Regions from separate parts of the Homo sapiens genome. Here region 2 is linked to region 1. The links are contacts of gene promoters, found by promoter capture Hi-C in human tissues and cell types (Jung and others, 2019). All regions are on one chromosome and are shown on one strand. The core of a region is centred on a gene start or on the middle of the fragment in contact, and the rest is flanking DNA. Distances in the headings are between cores, read along the strand shown.

Region 1 (7,294 bases), core at 1,714-4,213:
GCCAAGATCGCACCACCGCACTCCAGCCTGGGCAACAGAGCAAGACTGTTTCAAAATAAATAAATAAAATAATAAATAAATCTTTCCAACTGCATATCTGTTGTGAGACAGGATTTTCTTCATATGTCTCAGTAACCAACATATAGCAACAGATCAAATATGGAAGGAGATATTGATAATACAGCTGTCCCCTTGGAAGCCAGAGAGTAAAGAGATTCGTAAAAATGTAAAATAATTTCCATACTCTCATTAATTCGGGGAATGGGAATATAGTTATCTTTCATTTAGAACATTATGTTAACATGATTAATGTGTAATGAGTTTATTTTTGTTATTTTTAACGAATTGATACATATTTAAAATTTTTCTCAAGTTTCATTTTAATATGGCAACTATTGGTAGATATAACCCACTTCAACAAAAAAGCTGTTTGGGGGTCTTCAATACTTTTTAAGAGTGTAATGGGTTCTAAGACCAAAAGACCCACACCGTATTAGTATATTTGATAAGTACCCAGAAACTGGTACATAAAAAACTCATCTGGCAAATGTTCATGAAGTGCCAACTCTATGCCTGGTGCTGTGATAGGCCTTGGGGATTCAGAATTGAGAACAGTCGTTTCTGTTGAGGACTCACAGACCGGCGGAGGCGCCAAACCGGTATAAGAACAGTTATACCATGGGACTAGGATGAGGGTGAGAGCCCGCACCAAGAACACGCACCTATTAGGTGAGGCGGTGGGAAGAGAAGTGGCCAGGGAAGGCTTCCCAGAAAAGCTGACACTTACTGAGTCTTAAAGGCCACCAGGAATCAGCCAAGGGGATGGGCATTTTAGGGAGAGAGAACAGAATGCATAAACTGTGGAAGCTTTAAGAAAAGTATGGCTATTTCCAGCTCCTGCACGTAGCTCATTATGAATGCAGCATGAGGTACAAGTATGAATACTGGGGGTGAGGTTGGGCATGGAAGGAGATGAGGCCAGAGAGGCAGGCAACAGCCAAAACAACGGGCCTTCTATACCATATTAAGAAATGTGGATTTTTTTTTTCTCCTCAAAACAGGCAGGGTGCCCGCACGCCTGTAATCCCAGCTACTCAGGAGGCTGAGTCGGGAGGATCACTTAAGCCCATAAGTTCAAGACCAGCCTGGGCAATCTAGCAAGCTCCCGTCTCAAAAAAGGTGGGGGGACAGGGATTAGGGAGGGGTTTTGGAGAATTTTAGATAATATTCGCATTAACTTTTAAAAAGATATTTGACAACAATGTCATGGGACAGTCAAATGAATGAATGAGTTGAGGAACTAGAAGTAAGACTACAAAACAGACTGAAGAAAACATAAGGCGCGGCCAGAGGCCAGCCCAGACCGACCCGAGGAGGAACCTCCTTGGTAGAAGGCAGCCTCTCCAGGATTAGGTGGTTGTGAGACGCGAAGGGCAGGGGATACCCAGTGGTCTAGCATAGGCTACTGGTGGATGAGGCGTCTTCCACGGAGTTAGAGGAACACTGCGAGGTCAGGCCAGGGTTGCTCTCCGTGTGGCTAGCAGGCAGCTAAACAGATCTGAATGCATTTCCACGCCACCTCCCCACCGCCCCGGCCAGCGGCCTCGGGTTCCCACGGTCCCCAGCCCACTGCAAAATCCAGGCCTCCCGCCCCTCTATGACTGGAGGGTGGGGGCGAGGCTAGCAGCTCCCTCCCGGCTTCCTCCGCTTGTTCTCTCCTCCCCTTCCCCCTCCTCCCGGCGGCTCTCCACTTCCTTTCCCCCCACCCCACCCCAGGGAAAAACGAAAACAAACACCCTCGCGCCTCGCGCCTCCGACTCCCAGACCCCACGACCCGGCTCCGGCGCTGGTTTGGCGGCCTGGGTGGGAGAAGGCACCTCGCCCCGGACCCCCTATGCCCCGCAGCTCAGTGACTCTTCCCCTCGCCCTCCGCCTTCCCCGCCGCAGCCCGGCTCCGCCTCCCAATGGGGAAACATCCCAAAAAAGGGCAGAAAAGAAATTTCAGCATAAAGTTGGCCCACTGGGAAAGAGAGGAGCGTCCGCGGGGAGCGGGGGAGAAGAGGGAAGGCGCGCGGAGGGGAGTGGGGCCAGGCGGAGCCAGGGGCGGGGAGCGGAGGGGCTCGGGACGCGTCCGGGTGGGAGCGGGGGCGGGGAACGCGCGGTGACCAGCCTGGCCGCAGCCGCGTGGAAAATATGCGGGGCACGTGGGGGGCGGGGCGGGGAGCTGGGTCCTGAGCCGCCGGGTGCTCGCAGGAAGGGCCTGGCTCCAGGGGCAGGGGCTGGGAGGGGAGGCGAGGGGATGAGAGGTCAGGCCGGTCCTGGGGGCAGCAAGCCCGGCCACACTCCCCACCGCGACCGGGGCTCTGGGCTCGCTTCCTGCTTCAGTTTCCCCAAGCTCCCGATGAGACTCCGCTACTACCACCACGTCGATAACGCAAACCTAGAGGGACTCAGGGTAAACTGAGGCACTCAAACTGCCGAGGAGCTCCGCCTCCCGAGAGACATTTAATCCGGGGGGATTTGCAGGAAACTTCTAAATTAAGGGTAGCGGCTGCTGCAGCTGAGGGGGGGCACGCCGGTCCCTGCGCCCGGGCAGCTGCCGTGAGCTCACGCCCCGAAATAGCCCCAGGGGCCCCAGCCGCAGCTGCCACTGGGTCCGGCTGTCACTCAGAGGAAGCACGGAGCCCCCAGCCCAAGGGTCCCCTCCCCTTCGCATCGCCGGGGTTTTTCCAGCCGACCGTCGGCCACTTTTTCCTCCGACGGCTGGCAGGGAAGAGGGGGATGGGGGCGGGACCCCAAGGGAGGCGGTCCCCAGTGGGTGGGCGAAGGGGGCGGCCGCACCCCCCGGCCGGGCCGTGCTTCTGCCCCTACAAGGTTTGGGCCGAGGTGGGGGAGGGTCCTGGTTGCCGGCCCCGCCCGGTCCCTCCCCGCCTTTTAGGCGCCCGCGTGGCCGGGACGTCCCAGTCCCGCTCCGTCCTCCTCGCCTGCCACCGGTGCACCCAGTCCGCTCACCCAGCCCAGTCCGTCCGGTCCTCACCGCCTGCCGGCCGGCCCACCCCCCACCGCAGCCATGGACGCCATCAAGAAGAAGATGCAGATGCTGAAGCTGGACAAGGAGAACGCCATCGACCGCGCCGAGCAGGCCGAAGCCGACAAGAAGCAAGCTGAGGACCGCTGCAAGCAGGTTAGGGCCGGGCCCAGTGCAGCCTGCTCTCCCCGCGCCTAGGGCAAGGGTGGGCCGCTGCCATGGGTCCCCCAGCCCCGGGCCTGCCCGCCAAGGCTCTCTCTCACCCAGGGTGGGGGCTGGGCCTTCGCAGTACCCTCAGGGCCTTCGCCAGAGCCGCTTCTCTCCCCTACAATAGCCTGGGGAAGCCCCAGGCCCCTGGTTTCCACTCTGCCTTTGCAGAGCGCGGTTGGTCCTGCTCCTTGGGGCCTGAAGTTTTCTCTGTACCCTCAACGGGTCCCACCAGTACCCTTGACTGTACTGTCCCTTTTATGTTATTCCGCTTCCATCCCAGTAGCCTCCAAATCTTAGTAGCGCCCCTACACACACCGCGTCTCCATTCTGGGCCTGGGCCCCCTCCCAGCCTGGCTGACCAAGTCCCCTCTGTCCCAGCTGGAGGAGGAGCAGCAGGCCCTCCAGAAGAAGCTGAAGGGGACAGAGGATGAGGTGGAAAAGTATTCTGAATCCGTGAAGGAGGCCCAGGAGAAACTGGAGCAGGCCGAGAAGAAGGCCACTGATGTGAGTGTGGACTTGGGGGACAATGGGAGGAGTTAGGGCTCTGGGAAGGGGCCCCCCGGGTATGGGAATAAGAGGATTGGGGCACCTTATCCCCTTATGTCCCCAGCGCCAGGAGAGAAATGGTTTCATCTCAGTAACCAGGGCTAGGGTAAACTTACACAAGTAATCCAAGACAGTGGATAAATCAAAACCACCTACCACTTCCCCCAGAGGACTTAGCCCTGTAATTCTGTTTGGTTCCAGCTTTTAGAATGTACAGTGATCAAGCAATGAGTCATTGTGGGGGTGGAAGGTATAAGAATTTACCATCTACCTCAATTAATCCTCCAGCTGAAATTGGAGAGGAGACTGCAGCCGTTTGGGGATGGGGGGATGTGGATGTGAGGTACTAGCCTGCAGGAGGAGGGAGAGGGATCCAGAGATGAGACCCCACTTGAGTTACAACCCTAAGGGGCCATTAGAAATTCCCTGGCCTTGACCTCTGGCTTCAGCAGCCCTGCTGTGCCCTGGGGCCCCAGCTCAGGTTCTAATGGCTCCTCATTTACCCTCATTAAGCTGTCAGCCTGGAGACCATGCCAGGCCACAGGGCAGAGGGACAGGGCCACAAATGCCAAAGCAGCTACCTTGGCAGGTCATTTACCCTGAGATTTCTCTGCCCACCCCACAACCCCAACCAGACTTCACTTCCTGCCATTCCCAACCCCCAGCTTAAGGTAGGAGAATGGCCATATGGCTTTGGTGTGGTGGTAGTTTCCCCATTCTCTGCCTCAGTTTCCCCATCTTCCTTCCACCCAGGATTGTTTTAAGATGAACCTATGGTTAGATTAGCATAAAGCATGGTCTGAACATCAGAGATGACATAGCTGTTTGTGTCGACTGCTCATGTTCCCAGCCCCCCAGGGGTTGGGCTTCTGTGACCTCCAGCCTCCAGTTTTGGTTCTCCACCAGTCCTGGCACTTGGGAGGGAGCTGACCTGCAGCTGCTAGCACAGACAACCCTGGGCATCTGACACTCTATAAATAACCAAGGCCCAGTGCAGCTGGAGGCAAGATTGGAAACCCAAGTTGCTGGTGGGGGCTGGAGGGGCAGGGGGGACAGGGACAGAGCTGGGGAGGCAGAGCCGCAGCACCAGGAGCAGATAGGAAAGACTGCCCAAGCTTCCTGGTGACCTTGAACACAGCACTCAACTTACATGGTGCCTCAGTTTCTCCCTCTCTCTTGCTTCCCATTTTTCTAATGGGGACAGTAGTGCCTGTCCTGTGGTTAGAGAGCCGCCCCCGTAACTGGGAAGAGCTTGAGAGGCAGGAAATGGCACATATCAGTCCCATGATGAGGACCCCAGGACTTCCCAAACTTTCCAGAGTCTTTTGTCACCCCACCATCATGCAGAGTTTTTCTTTTACAGTCTCACCTCTCTCTAGGGTAGTACTCCAATGTCCCCCACAGTGATTCTTCCCAACCCCCAATGCTGTCCCCAGAATGCTTCCACACTGTCATCCGGCCCTGTGCCCATGATGGGCTCTTGTCACTCTAGGTGGCCAAGCTCCAGGTGCCTTCAGCACCTGGAAGACAAGCTACCATCTACTCTCTATATATGGTGCTGTTTCTCCTGCCCTACAGTCCGACCAAGGACCTGCTTCCTATGCTGTGTCCAAGTGCTGCCCCCAGCCCCTCCCCCCACCTCCTTTCCCTACACAGGTCCTCTCTCCTTTCCACTCTGAAATCTCAGGGTCTCTGTGTCCTTGTTTTTGACAGAGAAAGGGGATAACCTAATATTTATGGAATGTGGACCCTGTGCAGGCAATGTACTCAGTGCTTTCTGCATGTTATTTTACAATTTCCCAAACTTGGCTTATCATCAGAATCACTCGGGGGCTTTAAAAAAAAAAGAGAAGATTCCCAAGCCCCCGCCCTACACATCCCAATTCAGTGGATCTAGCATGGAGTAAGAGAACCTGTTTAGTTTTATGAGTCTCACCGAAGGTCCTGTTGATTAACTGAGTATTAAAAGCAGTGGATTATCTCAGAACAGCCTTAAGAAGGAGGAACTGTTATTGTTAACTCCAACTTGTGAAGGAGGAAACTGAAGCTTAGAGAGGCTAAATAAGTTGCCCACAGTTACACAGGTGTTGAGTGGCTGAGCCGTGGCTCAAAGACAATCTGACTCAGAGCCGATGCTCTTAACACGTGGCTGCCCTGCTCCTCTCATTTTCCTTTACTGGCGCTCGCCTTGCTCTGCCCTTTTTCTCAGTGTTTGACCAGTTTTTATGGATTTTTTCCAAAACCTCCATGGTTTTGCCTCCTACTGCAAGCCCAGGGGCTGAGTAGACATCCCTCACACTGCCCCTGCATTGCCCCCAGCTCTCTGCTGGCCTTGGCAGGGAGCCCCTTGCTACAGCCATGGGTATTCCTTATAGGCCTGCCTCTTGGGCTTCTTGCTGGGAGTCTGCCTTACAGCTGATGACAGATGACATCACTGAACTTGATACTTTTTTTTTTTTTTTTTTTTGAGATGGGATCTTGCTATGTTTCCCAGGCAGGGCTCCTGGGGTCAAGCTGAACTCCCGCCTTAGCCTTCGGAGTAGCTGGGATGACAGGCATGCACCACCATGCCCAGTATCACTGAGCTTGATTCTGTGACGGGCTATTCTTAGCAGCAGTGATGTCTGGTTGGCCTGATTCTCCTCCCATCCCCTTACCTGGGCCAGGCTTTGCTGTGTAGGAATCAGAGCTGCATCAGACCTGGCCCCAGCACTTGAAGTGCTCCCACAGGGAACAGGAGGACTTGTGTGCAGGTGACCTTTGGGAGACTAACTGTGCACAGTGCAGGAGAGGCCCTGCAGCAGGGGAGCGGAGCTTGTCAAGCAAGGAATGCATGTATTTTTTTGTTTTTTTGAGATGGAGTTTCGTTCTTTTTACCCAGGCTGGAGTGCAGTGGCACGACCTCAGCTCACTGCAACCTCCGCCTCCTGGGTTCAAGTGATTCTTGTGCCTCAGCCTCCCAAGTAGCTGGGATTACAGGCATGCGCCACCATGCCTGGCTAATTTTTTATTTTTAATAGAGACAGAGTTTCACCATGTTGGCCAGGCTGCTCTCAAACTCCTCACCTCAGGTGATCCACCCGCCTCGGCCTCCCAGAGTGCGGGGATTACAGGCGTGAGCCACCATGCCCGGCCTGAATGCACATTTTTTACTGGAGCACAGTCTGGGCAGAAGATGATTGGTTGGGGAAAAATCACATAGAATGTCTAGAAACCAGGAAGCCTCAGTTCTTTCTGAGAAGAATCTCGCCATCCTCTGGAGCCTCTCTGATCCTTATCCAAGGCTAACAAGGCCTTTTTGACCCCTGACCTCTGACCCACAGGCTGAGGCAGATGTGGCCTCCCTGAACCGCCGCATTCAGCTGGTTGAGGAGGAGCTGGACCGGGCCCAGGAGCGCCTGGCTACAGCCCTGCAGAAGCTGGAGGAGGCCGAGAAGGCGGCTGATGAGAGCGAGAGGTGGTCAGGGGCCTCGGGGAGGATGGTCCGGGAGGGAGAAGGGAGCCTGTCTC
Region 2 (7,294 bases), core at 455-2,954, 39 kb before region 1:
TTTTAAATTACTCTCCTACCATTTTCACCCAGTCATGTACCTACATTCCACCTGGTCATCTGCTGAATACCCTACTCCCATCCCCTGCTGTGTGTCACCCCCTGGATCTAAGCCTCTTTTAATTTCTTGGACCATTTGTAGATCCCCTTCCCCCACTCCCCAACAGAAAAGAGGAAACGAGACCCAAAGAGGAAACTGGGTCTTGCTGATCCCACGCCCAGCCAGGCCACTGACCACACCCCCACTTCACTCCCAGCCTGACCCTGCCACTGACCACAGCACTATCCTCTACTCAGCCTGACCCAGCCACTGGCTGTACCCCATCCCCCATCCCAGCTCCAGCTTTACTTAGACATTGCCAATGTCCCTTCACTTTCCCACCCCCACCCCAGTCTGATTTAGTGACTGACCACAGGCCCAGCTCTTCTCAACCTCCTATAGCCTGACCTGGCCTCTGACCTCACCCCATCATTCCCTGACTTAGCCACCATCCATGTAATCATTCCCCTTCCCCCAACCTGATGCAGTGACTGGTCATATATGTATCTTATGTATATGTATTTTTCCAAACACCATCATCACCAGCATTCTTTTTCTACACCCTGTCTTCTCATCCTTTTTCTACACCCTGTCTTCCCCATTCCCAGCCTGATGCAGTCACTAACCCAACCCCATCTGCCCCTAGTGGCTACTAATCATATACTCATACCCTTTTTCCCCACAGCCTAACCACATCCCGTAACCACAGCCTCATCCTCACATTCTCTGCCCAACCTGATCCTTTCCCCTCTTCCCAATTCGTCGCCTAAACTCAAGCTGCCCCAGCCGCTAAAGTGGCTGCTGATGATAGGAAGCTGTGGGACTCTAACCTGTCTACCTTAGTAGTTATTAGGTCCTGTCATTTCTACCTCCCCAAACTTGTTCTGAGTGACATCTTCCTCAATGCCATTCCAACTCCGGCTTCATTACCTTTAATTTGTACTAATACAGTGTCCTTCTAACTAATCTCCAAGGTAACTGCCAGAGTTATTTTTCTAAAATCCAGTTCCGGTTATGTCTCTTCTCTGCTCAAAGACTCCCTTGGCTTCCTTTTGTCCTCCAATAAGTAAAATTCCTCATACCCCTCTCCAGTCTTCCTCTGCCTTTCCATCCTAACCCTGACTTCCCCACCACTGCTCCCTTGCAGGTACCCCTGTGCTTCAACAGCCTGCCTGCTCACTTCCCTGAATGCTCCTCCACGATTTACTGCTTCTCCATCTTTGCTTATGCTATTTCTCTGCCTGGAGTGAAAACTACCCCTGACACATCTCCAGCTGGCTGGCGTAGTGGAGAAAGCTTGGGCTTTGCAGTCAGAAACCTGGGTTCGGATCCTGGCTTCACAACTTATTATTTGGAGAAGTATTTGAACAAGTATTTAACATCTTTGAGTCTGTTTTCTGATCTGTAAAAATGGAAATAATGACACCTACTGTAAGGATTAAATGAAATTATGTATACAATGCAAGTGACATAGTCAATAAATGGCAGATCACTATTGTTTTTTATTATCTCTATTTTTTAAAATTCTAGCTTCAAATGATACTTATCATGGAGACTTTTTGGTTCCCCTTCCCTGACCTAAAGGGATCTCTCTGAGCACACACCTTTTGGCTCTTACCACATCCTGCCCTCCGTTGTGATTCTGTACTTGGCTTATTCACTCATCTCGTGGACTGGGAGCCCTTTGAACTCAAAGGCTAGGTCTTACTGATCTTGGTCCCCAGCCACTGAAAGTTTGGCCCAGGGTCTTCCCCACAGCTGGCCCTCAAGGAATGCTTGCTGGGTGAATGGAGAATGTCTACATAATGGGAGGAGAGACACTGGGTGCCGGGTGTGCTTGTTATGGAGGTTATCTGTGCAAAAGCTGTGTGCATAGGATGGGCTCCCTAGGAGAAGATAATGCAGTCGTGATGGGATCTGTGTGGGGGCTGTGTGATTGAGATAATGTGTGTATAGAGAGAGTAAGGTAGCTTTGTGGGAAAGAGCTCTGCCTAGGCTGGGGTGCATCTGGGGAGAATGAGTGTGCATTTGAGTATGGAGGGGCTGTACCGGGGGAAGTTCTGTGCAGCCCTTCAGCTAGCTGCCCAGTCCAGCTCTAAATGAGTCTCCAGCAGCCTGAGGCCGGATATGTCAGTCTCACCCACAGCCCTCCCCCACTGCCAGCGGTTGCGGACTCAGAGGCCAAATTTGGTAACAGACTGAGTGTTACTCCCCCATCCCTCTTATATTCTGACTGTCTTAAGCTCTTTCCTTTTGTTCCTGTCTGTAACTCCCTATCTTTCTGCAATTCCCCTTGTGGGTATCTGCTCTGACTATATTCTCCAAGTACCCCAACTTTCTTAGCTCCAATACTCTTACATTCCATTCCTTGCTGGGATTTGACCTCCTGTCCTCCATTCCCCCCCTCCAATTGCCCAACTTCTTTGGAATGCATCGCAGGAATGTATTGAGGGAGGAGGAGTTCCCTGGGAGGGGGACACGGCAGTGGGGAGTTGCTGTTCCATCAAACACAATGGAAAAGGGAGCAAAGTTCTCAGGCCAAAGGAGGAATGAGCTAGCTTCTACTCATACTTGTAGCAGCCTTGTTCTTTGCCACCACCACCCACAATTCACTGATCAGTTCTTCGCGTCCACACACCCTCTTGTAGCTGTGTGAATATCCACTCTGGACCAGCTGGGGAGTAAGGGTAGGCATGACTCAGCTCCCTTATCGGGGTCTCACCAGAGGCTTCCGTGCTTGAGGAGGAAGGGGGTGTCTAAGTGTCCAGAGGAAATGGGGGGAGACATGCAGTTTCAGCTTAGTGTGAAGGGTCCTTTCAGTCCTGCTTCTTGGCTCCACAGACTCCTCCAGCTTCTCGGATCCACCAGCCCAGCCCTCATTCTTTCATGGTCAGCAACCCCATAGCCAGGTCTGTCCAGCTGGGACACAAGCGGATAGTAATAAGGTTGGGCAAAGTGCCCCAGGAGTGGGGAGGGGGCAGAGAGCTGGAACTGGGGAGACTGGGAGGGTCCTCTCTTATTGGGGAGTAAAGACAGAGAGCTGTGGTTCTTCTCTTTTGAGACTCTGGACTGCTTGTAAGGTCAGAAATGGTCTATCTGCCACTTGGTACCAGACCGCTGATCTAGACCATTTTCATACCTGCCTCCTGTCTCTTGTTTCTACTTAGATTTTCAATTCTCCTCATCCCATCTCTCCTAACTTCTTTACCCTCTACCCCTTCTTAACTTCCCTGGCTTTCAAATGCCTTCTGTATCCTAACACCCCCATCTCTGCTTTCCAGCCTTCCCCTCTCACCCTGCTTTTCCCCATTTGAGGCTTGTAGTTTGCCAGGAGGGGAATGGGCAGCTTGTATTTGCCCATTCTCTTAGTTAAGAGGCACCCAATCCCTGTACCAAGCAGGGGCACATCAGCAGCAGCCGGGCAGACTTGTCCTCTTGCAGCCTGTGCGCCACCTGCTGCCTCCAGTGCCTCCTCTAGCCTGCTGAGAGGGGGTGCCAGGAGGGTGGAAGAAGGTGGGGTAGGACTAGTATTCTGAGCTGCACTGAAAATACAGTCAGGGGAAGTGGGTGAGACAGAGCAGAATTCGAGACAGACTTGCTGAAGAGGAGAAAGCATGGGAGGAGTTGCAGGACTGAGTATTAACTTGATGACTTGGAACAAGCAAGGACTGAGTTACAGGGACTGGGTCCTTTCTCTGGCCTGTCTTGAAAATGTTTCCTGGCCTCCCAGAGTCTATTTCCCCTTCTCCAAAACACAAGAGTTGACCAGATAACTTCTGAGATAGATCCCTTTGAGTTAGAGAATCACATTTCTAGCTTGACTGCCTGGGAAGCCCAGTACAGGGCTAGGCTCCTTCAGAAGGCCCCCGCATCTCAGGTTAGAAAAAAGCTGGGGCAAGAGCGGACCCCTGAATGGCTTGAGCAACCAGTATTTGGTCTCCCTGCCAGGCTAGCTAGAGTTTGTTTGCAGGCTTCAAGAGCCTTAGGGAATTATAACATCTTCATTTTGCAGAGAAGGCAGCTAAAGCCATGAGAAGGAAGGTCACGTGGTGAGAAGAGAGCTCTGAAAATCCCGGACAGGGAAGAGCCAGCAGGACACAGCAGGAGACAAAGAGAGAAAAATACTGAACCAGGCAAAAATGAAAAGAAGGCAGGAGTAGGGCTGAGAAAGGTGATCAGGGACAAGGGGCAAGAGAGATACTTGGATGAAAGTAGGGAGGTACAAATTCCAGTGGTGGGGCAGGGCAGTGTCCTCAGGTAGCACTGCATTTCAGACCTGCTATTGTACCTTGCAGACCAGCTTCTCCTTTCCCTCAGATGTCTTAAATTGTTAGGACTTGGCCGGGCGTGGTGGCTCACGCCTGTAATCCCAGCACTTGGGGAGGCCAAGGTGGATCACGAGGTCAGGAGATCGAGACCATCCTGGCTAACATGGTGAAACCCCGTCTCTACTAAAAATACAAAAAATTAGCCAGGCATGGCAGCGGGCGCCTGTAGTCCCAGCTACTGGGGAGGCTGAGACAGGAGAATGGCGTGAATCCAGGAGGCGGAGCTTGCAGCGAGCTGAGATCGCACCACTGTACTCTAGCCTGGGCAACAGAACGAAACTCTGTCTCAAAAAAAAAAATTGTCAGGACTCATTCTTTTGATGTAAATAATTTTTCACTCTTTAAAATTATTAAATACAATGAAAACAACCTTATTACCATCTACTTTGGTGAGTCCCTTTCAAAAACACTCTTCCCTTGGACTCCACCATCTGGGGGGCCTCTTCTCCCACCAGAAGAGTGTATTCTAATGCCCTGATGCCATGGGTCAGGTATAGCCAGGCTGGAGAAAAGAAGCTGCCACCATGGTTGCACTTTCACTGAAGATCAGCATTGGGAATGTGGTGAAGACGATGCAGTTTGAGCCGTCTACCATGGTGTACGACGCCTGCCGCATCATTCGTGAGCGGATCCCAGAGGCCCCAGCTGGTCCTCGTGAGTCTGACTCCCCCGGTGGCTGGAGTGGGAGTCTTCAGTCCCTTCTTGTTCCCAGGCTCTCGGCCTTGAGAGTTGACCCCTTTGTCCCCTAAGACTACTCACCCCTCAGGTCTGTGTTCCATGGTTCCCTCGTTCTTTAGGCCCAAGGTCATGGGAGAAATAGTCAGGGGCAACATGGTACAAGCTGTTCAGCCACATTGGGGTCTTCATAAGCCTAAAGTGATCCATCCTCTCTTTTAGCCAGCGACTTTGGGCTCTTTCTGTCAGATGATGACCCCAAAAAGGGTATATGGCTGGAGGCTGGGAAAGCTTTGGACTACTACATGCTCCGAAATGGGGTAAGTATCCTTTCATCAAGGACCACCACATCCCCTTCCATCAGCTTCTCCCTGTTCCACCTCCTGTTTTCAGCACCCACATCTGTTGTCTCTTAGCCCTCCCCATGCTTTCTTCCTATTAACAGACAGTCATAATTCCCTGCTTTTGAACGAACCACCATAGTCTTCCTTTCAGTGCTCCACTCTCTCCCCTCGGGCTGTGTAAAGAGGAAATAATACCCCTAGCTCAGAGTAGGCCCCTGTCTCTTCTTCCTGCCCTAACAGGACACTATGGAGTACAGGAAGAAACAGAGACCCCTGAAGATCCGTATGCTGGATGGAACTGTGAAGACGATCATGGTGGATGACTCTAAGACTGTCACTGACATGCTCATGACCATCTGTGCCCGCATTGGTAAGGGGCCCTAGTACAGTTGAAAGCCTGGGCCAGAAAGCCTCAACTCTCTCAAAAGGCATGGATGCAGTACCTGGGAAGCTAACAAGCCATCTCCTTCCTCAGGCATCACCAATCATGATGAATATTCATTGGTTCGAGAGCTGATGGAAGAGAAAAAGGAGGAAATAACAGGGACCTTAAGAAAGGACAAGACATTGCTGCGAGATGAAAAGAAGATGGAGAAACTAAAGCAGAAATTGCACACAGATGATGAGTGTAAGCAGAACTAGAAAAAAGAGGGCTTTTGAAATGGGAAGGGTGGGAAGGGGCTTCAGCATCTGCTTCTGCCAGGCACTGTTTTACACCCTGGGGATACATCAGTGAGAAAACAAAGTCCTACACTCATGGGACTTACATTTAAGTGAGGGGAGGTAGGAAATGCAGAAATAAACAGAGACCAGACAGCACAGGGGCCATGGGGGTTTGGCACTGAGGGGACTGTCTGTATCCCAGTGAACTGGCTGGACCATGGTCGGACACTGAGGGAGCAGGGTGTAGAGGAGCACGAGACGCTGCTGCTGCGGAGGAAGTTCTTTTACTCAGACCAGAATGTGGATTCCCGGGACCCTGTACAGCTGAACCTCCTGTATGTGCAGGTATGCAGAGGACTTGGCTGGGGTGGGGCAGGAATAGGGAGGGCTCGGAAGCACAGTGTGCGTGTCCTTGCACCCACACACAACATTCGCCTCCTTGCCCTGTGCTCTCCAGGCACGAGATGACATCCTGAATGGCTCCCACCCTGTCTCCTTTGACAAGGCCTGTGAGTTTGCTGGCTTCCAATGCCAGATCCAGTTTGGGCCCCACAATGAGCAGAAGCACAAGGCTGGCTTCCTTGAGTGAGTGACCCACATCCTATACCCTGTCAGGGCCCAGGACTCCCTGCCATTGTGACCCCAGTGGGCCTGTCTCCATTCCAAGCCTGCCCCCCACTATTTCTTCTTCCGAGGTACCAGGGTTTGACCAACATAGCTACCCTTTTAGTTGCCATCATCCATTGTCTCTTCTCTGCCTCTGGAATATGAATGTAGTTCAGTATCTCTGCCCCTACCCCCATCTCTGAAGCAAGCATGTCACTCTTTTTTGAGATTATCTGAAGAATTTTGCTGCAGTAGCCAGAGGGAAACCGGGTAAAATTTTCCCTATAGGGAACATGGGTTAAAAGTCTCACAAGCCTCATCTGCTGGTGTTTCTTGGAATGCAGAGTTTGGCGTGGCTTTCTCAGCTTCCTAAGTGCATGTTCATCCTTCTAGAAAGCTCTTTCTCCTCTTGGTTCCCTGAAATGGTGCTCTAGACCCACTTTCCCTCAGGGACTGAGCCTCTAACTTAATTTTCCTCAGTCCCTTTCCCTACAGGGAGAGACACAGGTCACATTAAGAATTCATACTGGCCAGGCTCGGTGGCTCACACCTGTAATCCCAGCACTTTGGGAGGCCAGGGCGGGCAGATCACCTGAGGTCGGGAGTTCGAGACCAGCCTGACCAACGTGGAGAAACCAT

The links. Contacts are between HindIII fragments. The study calls those that stand out against the background at their distance.
Region 2: a contact is called between a fragment that was not itself captured here and the fragment with the promoter of TPM2 in region 1, in 6 of the 25 tissues and cell types used here (IMR-90 fibroblasts, adrenal gland, aorta and 3 more).

What each region holds. Positions count from the first base shown.
Region 1 is chr9:35,685,594-35,692,887 of GRCh38, reverse strand. TPM2 (tropomyosin 2) reads left to right here and starts at 2,963. Exons shown (of 9, transcript NM_003289.4): 1 at 2,963-3,184; 2 at 3,617-3,742; 3 at 7,108-7,241. The coding sequence starts at 3,071. RefSeq lists a silencer at 1,546-1,625 and an enhancer at 4,521-4,998. The HindIII fragment of the contact is 5,966 bases long and covers 1-5,365 here.
Region 2 is chr9:35,723,292-35,730,585 of GRCh38, reverse strand. It overlaps TLN1 (talin 1), which reads left to right. Exons shown (of 57, transcript NM_006289.4): 2 at 4,859-5,021; 3 at 5,265-5,362; 4 at 5,627-5,756; 5 at 5,862-6,014; 6 at 6,252-6,394; 7 at 6,507-6,634. The coding sequence starts at 4,892. Among named protein-coding and RNA genes, the nearest start is that of TLN1, 5.3 kb to the left of the region's middle. RefSeq lists enhancers at 224-283, 2,679-3,392, 3,393-4,105 and a silencer at 3,380-3,674. The HindIII fragment of the contact is 3,260 bases long and covers 75-3,334 here.